3 separate regions of the Homo sapiens genome follow, and regions 1 and 3 are each linked to region 2. The links are contacts of gene promoters, found by promoter capture Hi-C in blood cells and fetal thymus (Javierre and others, 2016). All regions are on one chromosome and are shown on one strand. The core of a region is centred on a gene start or on the middle of the fragment in contact, and the rest is flanking DNA. Distances in the headings are between cores, read along the strand shown.

What was found. The method cuts DNA at HindIII sites, captures the fragments that hold promoters and counts their contacts. A CHiCAGO score of 5 or more calls a contact.
Region 1: a fragment that was not itself captured here is called in contact with the fragment with the promoter of CHST14 in region 2 in 2 of 17 cell types (naive B cells and total B cells); the score reaches 7.4 in naive B cells.
Region 3: a contact is called between a fragment that was not itself captured here and the fragment with the promoter of CHST14 in region 2, in 1 of 17 cell types (naive B cells). The highest score is 5.7, in naive B cells.

The regions. Positions count from the first base shown.
Region 1 is chr15:40,773,875-40,777,388 of GRCh38, forward strand. DNAJC17 (DnaJ heat shock protein family (Hsp40) member C17) reads right to left here. Exons shown (of 11, transcript NM_018163.3): 5 at 2,668-2,753; 6 at 2,322-2,418; 7 at 1,679-1,722; 8 at 1,157-1,234; 9 at 482-562. Among named protein-coding and RNA genes, the nearest start is that of C15orf62, 5.7 kb to the left of the region's middle. The HindIII fragment of the contact is 7,655 bases long and covers 1-3,514 here.
Region 2 is chr15:40,469,403-40,472,806 of GRCh38, forward strand. It overlaps CHST14 (carbohydrate sulfotransferase 14), which reads left to right and starts at 1,582. Exons shown (of 1, transcript NM_130468.4): 1 at 1,582-3,404. The coding sequence starts at 1,812. The coding sequence ends at 2,942. RefSeq lists enhancers at 1,054-1,163, 2,446-3,349 and silencers at 1,454-1,693, 1,744-1,993. The HindIII fragment of the contact is 28,829 bases long and covers 1-3,404 here.
Region 3 is chr15:40,791,099-40,794,700 of GRCh38, forward strand. All of the region lies in intron 1 of DNAJC17 (DnaJ heat shock protein family (Hsp40) member C17), which reads right to left. Among named protein-coding and RNA genes, the nearest start is that of ZFYVE19, 14 kb to the right of the region's middle. RefSeq lists an enhancer at 1,217-2,416 and a silencer at 2,493-2,787. The HindIII fragment of the contact is 1,288 bases long and covers 1,291-2,578 here.

The DNA.
Region 1 (3,514 bases), core at 197-2,696, 300 kb after region 2:
AGTCAGCTATAAAGAGGCTCTCTCTACCCCCACAGAGAGAACGGAACCAGCGTTCTAGCCCTCTAAGCAGAGATGCCAACCTCAGCAGCCTTCAAGTGATGGGTGTTAACGCTTTGGCCTTTCCTGCGGGAGAGGGGTTGGGGGAGCTTTCTGATGTGGGGAGGCGAGGAGCACAAAGGGTGGGAAGGCAGTGCTGGGGCTCACAGCCCCAAGGGGTGCAGGTGGAGGGTGTGAAGGCACCAGCAGGGAGCAGAGTCAAGTCTGTGCTCTCCTTTCTCCCCAGAGCACCCCCCATCCATCCCTTCACACACGGTGCCTCTATTTCCAGGAGTCAGGGGCCCCTGGGAAGAGCCTTGGCTCTAAGCTGGCCTGGAGATTCCCTAGGAGTGCAGACCACCTAACTCAGAGGGCCCACAGAATTGGGTCCCTGCCCTAGAATGACAGGGCCACGAGGGGCCCCCAAGCCTCATGCAGCACTCACCGCTGCCTTGACGGTTGCAAACTCCACCACAGCAGTGCCTGGCTTCTTACTGGAAAGCACCAGGTTGAGAACCTCACCATACTGTGGGGACAAAGGGGTCCTAATAAGCATGACTTGGCCTTCAGGATGGCCCAGGTCATGCCAGAGACAAGCCTGGGCTACCTTGAGGCCCATGGGGCATTTTCAGTTGGGAGATAACTTCTTGCCCCACCTACTTATCTTAGTGAAGTGAGATCAGAGATAGGAAAGAAAGAAATTTTTTTCTAGGAACACAGAGCAGCAAAGGAATGATGAGCAAAGCCCTGGTGACTTAGACTGACACATTTCATTGCATAGCGTCCTTGCTAGTTGAACGTGGTGAAAAGGACGGGGCTTTCGTGCCAGATACGCACCTCGTCCCTCCCAACCCACTCAACCAAGCTCTTTGCTTCTAAGGGTAAGGGTTAGACCGAGGTAGCAAAGGACAGCGGGCTGGAAGGGGGCACATGGCCACACAAGTGAAAGCAAGGCTGTAGCCTGGGGAGAAGTCTCTAAGACGTCCCATGGTCTATGAGACAGAAAAAAAAAGCAAGTAGATATGTTAAGGGAAGTTCAGGCATTGAGAGCAGAGACCTAGGGTGTGGACTGAGACGTGGACTGAGATGATAGGAAAGAGTGGACGTCAACAGGGCCGACCTTCTGCAAAAGCCGTAGGAGGACGTCTTTGGAGTAGCCACCTTTTGACTCATCCTCCTTCTTGCACTTCCATTTTAGCTGAAAAGAGAGCCTCATGAAACACTGATTCTTGGCTGAACAGTACCTCACCCCACGACTGAGCTTGACAGTCTGAGCAGACATCCTCCCACCCTCCAAGCCTCCAAGGCTCCTGCAATCTGGGGAGTGCCACCAGAAACATTTTCCCCTTGGGAACTTGAAGGCAGGATGGCCTGCTCACCCCAGGGACGCTTCCCGCCCAGAAGACCCTCTCCTGAGAGGGCTTCTAGAGAATCCTCTGCCCTGTGATCAGGGCTAAAAGCAGCCTTTCGTGGCAAGCTCTGATCTCCGGGCGGCTGGAGCATGGAGGGAGGTGGTAATGGTGCGGGCTCCACGCAGATCCAGCAGCCCCACCAGAAACCCTCGAGCCACAGGAAGCATCTATTCCTGCTGAGGGGAGGCGGTGTGAGTGTGAGGTGGCCCACAGATCCTGCCCAGGCTCACCTTTAGTTTGGGGGTTCCTTGGCCTTCAGTATTTTCTGCCTTTCCTAGAAATATTGGGAAAAGAAGAAAAGTAGAATATGAGGGAGTCAGAGATTCTCCCAAAGGAAATGCAGCCCAGAGCAAGAAGGGTCTGGAAAGGGTCACTCCTGACCAAGGGCAATGCCTGCCCAGCTCTGGTGAGGGCCTGGTGGGGAAAGCAGATGCCCATCCCCAGAGAAGCTGCCACCCCAGGGGTGGTCTACCCAGCTGCCTCCTGAAGGCCACTTGTCAGCACTCTCTGAATGGAGAGCTAGGAACACTTTCTAGGGACAGGAGGCAGAGAGACAGACCATGAGGTTCTACGGGCACAAAGTGTCCCAGGGCCCCTCCCCGTGGTGATCTGTCCCAAAACAAGGCCACCTCTGCTTGGGACAAAGCCAAATGTGGCCAGGAGATCTCAGGCAGAGTAAAAAGCAAATAGGCCCCAGAGAACTGGGAGGAAGACGGGATAAGTGGCATGTGTCAGAGTAAGGTACCATAGGGTGACCCCAGGGTTCCAGCAGGTAGAAGCCTCCACAGCAGCTCCACCGAACAGCCAGTGTGGCCGCTCTGAGCAATCTGGAGCTACCTTGGAGGGGAGATAGGCGGGGTGATAGACCTGCACCTCTCAACCTCTGGTCACGCTCCTGGCGTATCTGCTCCCGGATGAGCCTCTGCTGTTCCTCCAGCTGCCGGGAACCCTCTTCTCTCAGGCGTTCGATCTGCAGAGCAGGGGGTGGGGGTGACAATTCTGTGCAGGTCCAATTCCAGGCTGGCTCACCTTGTAAAAAGTCCTTGGGAGCTTCCACCTGCAAGCTAGGGCTCAGCAACCTGTGGGTGGGACAAATCACCCAGCTCCCACTGAAGGTGCAAAGAGCATGCCCTCTCTAGCCACGGCGACCACCAGGTCCATCCTCCCCCACCTCCTCCTCCTGCAGGTGGCCTTCTGGCCAGTGTGCCTGAGTGCTCACCTCTTGCTCTAGTGTCCTGGTGCTCCGGCTCTCCTCTTCCTCCTCACTCTCCTGGGCCTGGGCCTGCCGCTCCCGGGCCTCCAGGTCTAGACACAAGGGTTGAATGACCAGACTGCTGGTCTGTTCAGTTTCCATGTGGCCTCGGCCCACCCCAGCTCTGGCTGCCTCCCCAAAGTCTCAATCACGACGAGATCATACAGTAACTCTGCCCCCTCCCTCCATGCCCACGCCCCCGAGTCAATTTCCATTGAGAAAAATCACAGCACAGAAGTATGGGGTCTAGCAGAGTGGCCAGGGGTCTGGAAGAGTTAAAAACAGCTCACACTGACCAAGCTGGTTCTCTCTAGTGAACAGGGTGTGGGTGGTGCTTATGTCAGCAGCCCAGGGCCATGTGTCAGGGGTGCCAATGGGCGGAGCTGCTGGGCTCGATTCCTGTGGTTTGGCACCACAGCTTGACTTGCTTTGGCTTTGATTCTTTTCACACACTGAGCTCAGGTTCTCACTGTCTCCTTTACCTCCCACCTCAACTCACATTTACCAAGCCTCACTGTGGACCTGGCTACAGGGATGGGCAGAGTGTTAGGGCATCACCCCGGGTCCTGGATTGTGTGAGGGCGTTACCTTCCAAGAGAAACCTGCTTGCAACCATGTGCCAGGCCAGCTGCTGTGAGAAACCCTTCTCTTAGTCCAGAGAAGTTTGTGCACTTTACTTACTTAGACTCTCCTTTTCTCTCTCTCTCTTTTTTTTTTTTTTTTTTTGAGATGGGGTCTCCTGGCACTTGCTTTTCTTTTAATATAGAAATAGATATTGGGATGCTATATGCACATATTAAAATATATGGATGTT
Region 2 (3,404 bases), core at 332-2,831:
CTGGTTTAAAGGACATACTTACTGGAAAATATGATTTTAATAGAAAATCCTATCACCAGAAATGTATACCTTTAGGATTATTGGAAGCAAGGAGCAGTGTAGACAAGGCAGAACCTTCACGCAAACTTCTGGTGCAGCAAATGGACAGGTGGTAGCCTGCAGATGCACTGGGGCAATCAGATGTGGAGAGCCTGCCCTGGAGAGCTGGAAGGCTGCAAGGCTTTACCGTTCCTTCCCCTGGCTCATCTGTGTGCTTTTCCTGTTGCTGGGATTGTGGGGTCATCAGTGAGCCCTCTAGTATCACCTCATCCCTCAAGTCCCCTCACCCTTCTGAATTCATCTGATCACTGGTAGCTCCATTCTCCCACTGGTATCTTCTATTTTCCATCACCTGCTCTGTACAGTCCGCCCTCGAGTCAGCTGCTTCCTCCCTTCTAGCCATTCCATGATATGCTCCTTTAATCTCTGAAGGGCCGTGATTAGAAATTTAGGTTTTAGACTCAGAACCACCCATACTGAGTCACATCTTCCCTGAGCCTCTGTTACTTCAGCTGTACAAAGGGAATGTCCACACTAGCTCCCTGCCAGGGTGGCTGTAACAACTAAAGGAGATAATGAATATAAAACACTTAGTGGGCGCTGTCCTCAGTACACTTGGGCTCTAATCATATTCCTCTGCTGCTTCAGAGGCTTGCTGGCTCTCTGCAGGCAGCAAGCACATAGCTGGACCAAGTCTGGCTACTGAGCCAGGTTCCCAGTGGGAAATGGTGGTTGCTGACATCCAAAGCACTTCGGGTCTGCTGTCCGCCCAAGTGACCAGCCTGGTGCCATGGAGCACACATCTAGCTCCAGGCAAGGAGACTACGTGCTGTTTCCCTGCTGTTTTGTGCCCCCAGCTCCTCACCCTTCCAAATGTGTGTTGGCCACACCAGCAGCTGATGGACCAATGTGTCAGACCCTCCCCAGAGTGCCCAGTTATCCCACTGCCTCATGAGGAGAAGGCAGAGGAGGGGAGACTCCATTTCCAGACATTTCAGCATTACCCAGTGGACAAGCACTGTAGTCAGTCCCCAGGTATTGCTAAACACAAGGGTCACCATGGAGACTGGTCAGTGTCTGACAGTTCTGCTTCTCCTTCCTGGAGTGGCCACGACCTGCAGGACGGAGGGAGTTAAGGGTGGCAAGGGGGAGCACACCGAGGGCTCCGCTTCCAGCTGGAAAGACCAGCCTCCGGCACGTCTGGACTCGGAGAGAGCGCTGCCCGCCTCCCTGCCTCCAGACCCGTTGCTGGAGGAAGGGCTAGGACAGGCCTGAGTTTGTGGCGAATCCCCCTTGTCCACTTCCCTGAGGACACACGCTGCAGGAGAGCAGCCTCGAGTCTTTTCTGCCTTCGAGGTCTCAGGAGCTTTTGTCCCCAAGCCCAGAGGACAGGGGTGGCCCTGACTCAGGCGCCCTCTTCCGGGTAGGGGTCCGCGTGCGCCCTCCCAAGCCCGCGCCCCGCAGGGGCGCCCGCCCCTCTCCCCGCCCCCGGCGTGGGCCCGCCCCCGCGCCTGTGTCACTGCGAGGCCGGGGGTGGAGAGCGGCCGGGCGGGACATCCGGCCCGGGTCCCTCGCCGCGCCCGCCGCCCGCCGCCCGCTTCGGCGCCGCAGCCCGGGAGCCGGCCACCCCTACACGCGCCAGGGCTGTCCCCTGCCCTCCCCTCCCCAACTACCCCCGGTCCCAGACCCTCCTCCCGCCCCCAGCCCGAGCCCGCCTTCCAGGCCGCCCTCGGATCGGCCGGGCCCGCGCAGGCCCCCACCCCTTGAGCACCATGTTCCCCCGCCCGCTGACCCCGCTGGCGGCCCCAAATGGCGCCGAGCCCCTGGGCCGGGCGCTGAGGCGGGCCCCTCTGGGCAGGGCCCGGGCGGGGCTGGGTGGGCCGCCCCTGCTGCTGCCGTCCATGCTGATGTTTGCGGTGATCGTGGCCTCCAGCGGGCTGCTGCTCATGATCGAGCGGGGCATCCTGGCCGAGATGAAGCCCCTGCCCCTGCACCCGCCCGGCCGCGAGGGCACAGCCTGGCGCGGGAAAGCCCCCAAGCCTGGGGGCCTGTCCCTCAGGGCTGGGGACGCGGACTTGCAAGTGCGGCAGGACGTCCGGAACAGGACCCTGCGGGCGGTGTGCGGACAGCCAGGCATGCCCCGGGACCCCTGGGACTTGCCGGTGGGGCAGCGGCGCACCCTGCTGCGCCACATCCTCGTAAGTGACCGTTACCGCTTCCTCTACTGCTACGTCCCCAAGGTGGCCTGCTCTAACTGGAAGCGGGTGATGAAGGTGCTGGCAGGCGTCCTGGACAGCGTGGACGTCCGCCTCAAGATGGACCACCGCAGTGACCTGGTGTTCCTGGCCGACCTGCGGCCTGAGGAGATTCGCTACCGCCTGCAGCACTACTTTAAGTTCCTGTTTGTGCGGGAGCCCTTGGAACGCCTCCTCTCTGCCTACCGCAACAAGTTTGGCGAGATCCGAGAGTACCAGCAACGCTATGGGGCTGAGATAGTGAGGCGGTACAGGGCTGGAGCGGGGCCCAGCCCTGCAGGCGACGATGTCACATTCCCCGAGTTCCTGAGATACCTGGTGGATGAGGACCCTGAGCGCATGAATGAGCATTGGATGCCCGTGTACCACCTGTGCCAGCCTTGTGCCGTGCACTATGACTTTGTGGGCTCCTATGAGAGGCTGGAGGCTGATGCAAATCAGGTGCTGGAGTGGGTACGGGCACCACCTCACGTCCGATTTCCAGCTCGCCAGGCCTGGTACCGGCCAGCCAGCCCCGAAAGCCTGCATTACCACTTGTGCAGTGCCCCCCGGGCCCTGCTGCAGGATGTGCTGCCTAAGTATATCCTGGACTTCTCCCTCTTTGCCTACCCACTGCCTAATGTCACCAAGGAGGCGTGTCAGCAGTGACCATGGGTGTGGGGCCAGCAGCTGGTGGGGACTGGTTTCAACGCCAGCTTTCTGTGCTTCTGCCTGTCATTCGGAGAAACTCTGGCTCTGGGGCTTGGGGCTTCTCAGGATCCTGGATGGCAGAGACTGCCCTCAGAAGTTCCTTGTCCAGGGTGGGCACCCACAGTGACTCAGAGGACAGGGCTAGGCAGGAGACCTGCTGCTCCTCATTGGGGGGATCTCTTGGGGGGCAGACACCAGTTTGCCAATGAAGCAACACATCTGATCTAAAGACTGGCTCCAGACCCCGGGCTGCCAGGATTATGCAGTCCACTTGGTCTACCTTAATTTAACCTGTGGCCAAACTCAGAGATGGTACCAGCCAGGGGCAAGCATGACCAGAGCCAGGGACCCTGTGGCTCTGATCCCCCATTTATCCACCCCATGTGCCTCAGGACTAGAGTGAGCAATCATACCTTATAA
Region 3 (3,602 bases), core at 685-3,184, 320 kb after region 2:
AGGCCAAGGTGGGAGGATCCCTTGAGCCCAGGAGTTTGAGATCAGCCTGGACAATGTAGGGAGACCCTGCCTCTAAAAAACCATAATAAATAAATAAACAAATAAATAATGTGGTAATATATTGAGGCTACAAAAAAAATTTTAAAAAGCTGGGTGCGGTGGCTCATGACTGTAATCTCAGCACTTTGGGAGGCCAAGGCAGGCGATCACCTGAGGTGAGAAGTTTTGAGACCAGCCTGGCCAACATGGTGAAACCCCATCTCTACTAAAAATACAAAAATTAACTGGGTATGGTGGCGTGTGCCTGTAGACCCAGCTACTCGGGAGGCTGAGGGAGAAGAATTGCTTGAACCTGGGAGGGGGAGGTTGCAGTGAGCCAAGATCGCACCACTGCACACCAGCCAGGGTGACAGAGTGACTCCATCTCAAAAAACTAAAATAAAATAAAATAAAAAACAACAGGCAGCTGGTCGCAGTGGCTCACACCTGTAATCCCAGCACTTTGGGAGGCTGAGGTGGGCGGATCACCTGAGGTCAGGAGTTCGACACTAGCCTGGCCAACATGGTGAAATCCTGTCTCTACTAAAAATACAAAAATTAGCTGGGTGTGGTGGCACGCGCCTGTAATCCCAGCTACTGGGGAGGCTGAGGCAGGAGAATCGCTTGAACTCAGGAGGCGGAGGTTGCAGTGAGCCAAGATCACGCCATTGCACTCCAGCCTGGGCAACAAGAGCGAAACTCCATCTGAAAAAAACAAAACAAAACAAAACAAACAGGCTCAGTACCCAACCTCAAGGCCTCAGCACCTGGTCTAGATATAAGAGGTTCTGGGAAAAGCCCCCTTTGGAGACAGCAGATTACATCAGGCACACTTCAGATCCAGAAATGGCCCCCAGATGCTCACAGAATCAAGTGTAACCACCCTAGGGCCTAGAGGCCCAAACACACATTTCTCAGATTCATCTCCTGCGACCTCCTCAGCAAACCCTAGGCCATGCCCATTCCCTGTCATGCTAGGCACTCCACATCTGCATGCCCCGGTTGCTCCTTCAAGCCCTTGTCTGTCCTCTGTCCTCAAAAACCAAGTCTTCTTAAATTTTTAAGAAACAATGTTGATGCACCACCTTCTAGGGTATAAAAGAAATATGTAGCTAGTGGTACCAAGATAATAGCTAGCTTAAAGATAAAATAGCCTTTTCCTTGCAGTAATTTATATGCTATAATATAACCTCCCTCCCAGAAAATGTCAATATTAAGTTTCCCTGGTAGTTTTCCTGATAAATAGACTTAAGCTTTGAGTCTTGAAAAACAATCAAAATGCATTTTCAAACATCTGGCTTCCCCAGGTAATTACCTGCCAAGATGAATGAGCTACACACCCTTCAAAGGGCTTCAAATGAAAGGTAAGGCTGCTACAGACAGAAGAGAAAGACAGGCTGGACATGCTGACTCATGCCTGTAATCCTGGCACTTTGGGAGGCCGAGGCAGGAGGACTGCTTGAGCCCAGGAGTTCGAGACCAGCCTGGGCAACATAGGGAGACCCCATCTCCACAAAATATTTTTCTAAAAATTATCCAGGCGTGGTGGTGCACTCCTGTGGTCCCAGCCTGGAGGACAGAGTGAGACCCCCAGAAATACACATGTGGGCTGCACAAAAGTGGAAAGGATCTTGATTGGAGCTCTAGTCTCAGGCTGATGCTCACTCGCTGGATGGTCGTGGAAAATTTTGTAACCTCTCTGAACCTCCATTCTCCAGTCTACAAAATAAGACAGTAAATGACCATGAAGATCCCTTCTTTTTTTTTTTTTTTTTTTTGAGATGGTCTCACTTGTCACCCAGGCTGGAGTGCATGGCACGATCTCAGCTCACTGCAAGCTCTGCCTCCGGGTTCACGCCATTCTCTTGCCTCAGCCTCCCGAGTAGCTGGGACTACAGGCACCCGCCACCACGCCTGGCTAATTTTTTTGTATTTTTAGTAGAGACGGGGTTTCACCATGTTAGCCAGGATGGTCTCGATCTCCTGACCTCGTGATCTGCCCGCCTCGGCCTCCCAAAGTGCTGGGATTACAGGCGTGAGCACCGTGCCCAGCCCATGAAGATCCCTTCTAACTGCTGCAATATATTCTTTTCTCCCTTCAAGATCTTGCATAAAAACACCAGTCATATAAATCATGTCTTCCTCTTTATTCTTACAGCATTTTCTTATATACTCTTACTGAACCTCATTCATTGCACCTCAGCGTTCACTGAGTATATAACTGTGTGAGCTGTCAGAAGTCAGAAGTGGTATCTTACTCAGCTCTAAGTCCTACCATGCTCAAACAGTACCTTGTCCATGGTGAGAAACTCCATTCATTTGTTGATGTGAACTAAATGTTGAACTCTGGTGATCCTCAATTTTGTTCTACTTGATCCTCCACCGCCTTCCTACCCTGACCACTGCCTCAATTGAGAATCACTGATTTGCTGTTAGGTGACTCAGCACTAATGTGTCAGGAATGGAGTGAGTAAAGAAGGGGTCCAGGTGGAGGGCAGCCTTGGACACAAGCTGGGGGCGATTCATATTTGACTTTCCAAGCTTACAGTGTAAGGAAGATGGACTCACAATGAAAACAGCAAGAACTGACTCATAGTGAGCGCTCACTCTATGCCAGGCACTGTGCCAAATGCTTACGTGGATCAAGCCTCAAAACAATGCGATCAAGGACAGACTATCATCATCCTCGTTTTGCAGACGAGGAAACCAAGGTACAGAGCGGTTAAATATTTGCTCCAGGTCACAAACTAGGTCATGGGGCAAGTATCCAGGCAATCTGACTCCAAAGTCCACTTTCTTAACTATAACTGCTAATAAGTACAAAGGTGATTATGAAGGCACATTTACAATTCTAACATCTGTATCATGATTTCCATCTATTCTCAACACATGGTAGATGCAACAAGCAACAATTCTTAGCCTTACACATTAAAGATAGTTATAAAAACTGTTACTTTCAATCCCAGCACTTTGGGAGGCCGAGGCGGGCGGATCACAAGGTGAGGAGTTTGAGACCAGCCTGACCAATATGGTGAAATCCCATCTCTACTAAAAATACAAAAATTAGCCAGGCATGGTGGTGCATGCCTATAATCCTAGCTACTCAGGAGGCTGAAGCAGGAGATCTGCTTGAACCCAGGAGGCAGAGGTTGCAGTGAGCTGAGATTGTGCCACTGCACTCCAGCCTGGGGGATAGAATGAGACTCCATCTCAGAAAAAAAAACAAAAACAAGAACAAAACCTGTTACTTTCGGCTGGGCACAGTGGCTCATGCCTGTAATCCCAGCACTTTGGGAGGCCAAGGCCAGAGGATCACTTGAGCCCAGGAGTTCAAGACCAGTCTGGGCAACATGGTGAGACCCCATCTCTACAAAAAATACAAAAATTACCCTGGCATGGTGGTGCACACCTGTAAGCCGAGCTACTCAGGAGGCTGAGGTGGGAGGATCACCTGAGCCCAGGAAGTCAAGGCTGCAGTGAGCTATGATTGCACCACTGTACTTTGGCTGGGGCAAAGCGAGACCATCTTTAAAAAAACAAAAAACAAAAATAAAAACGGTTAC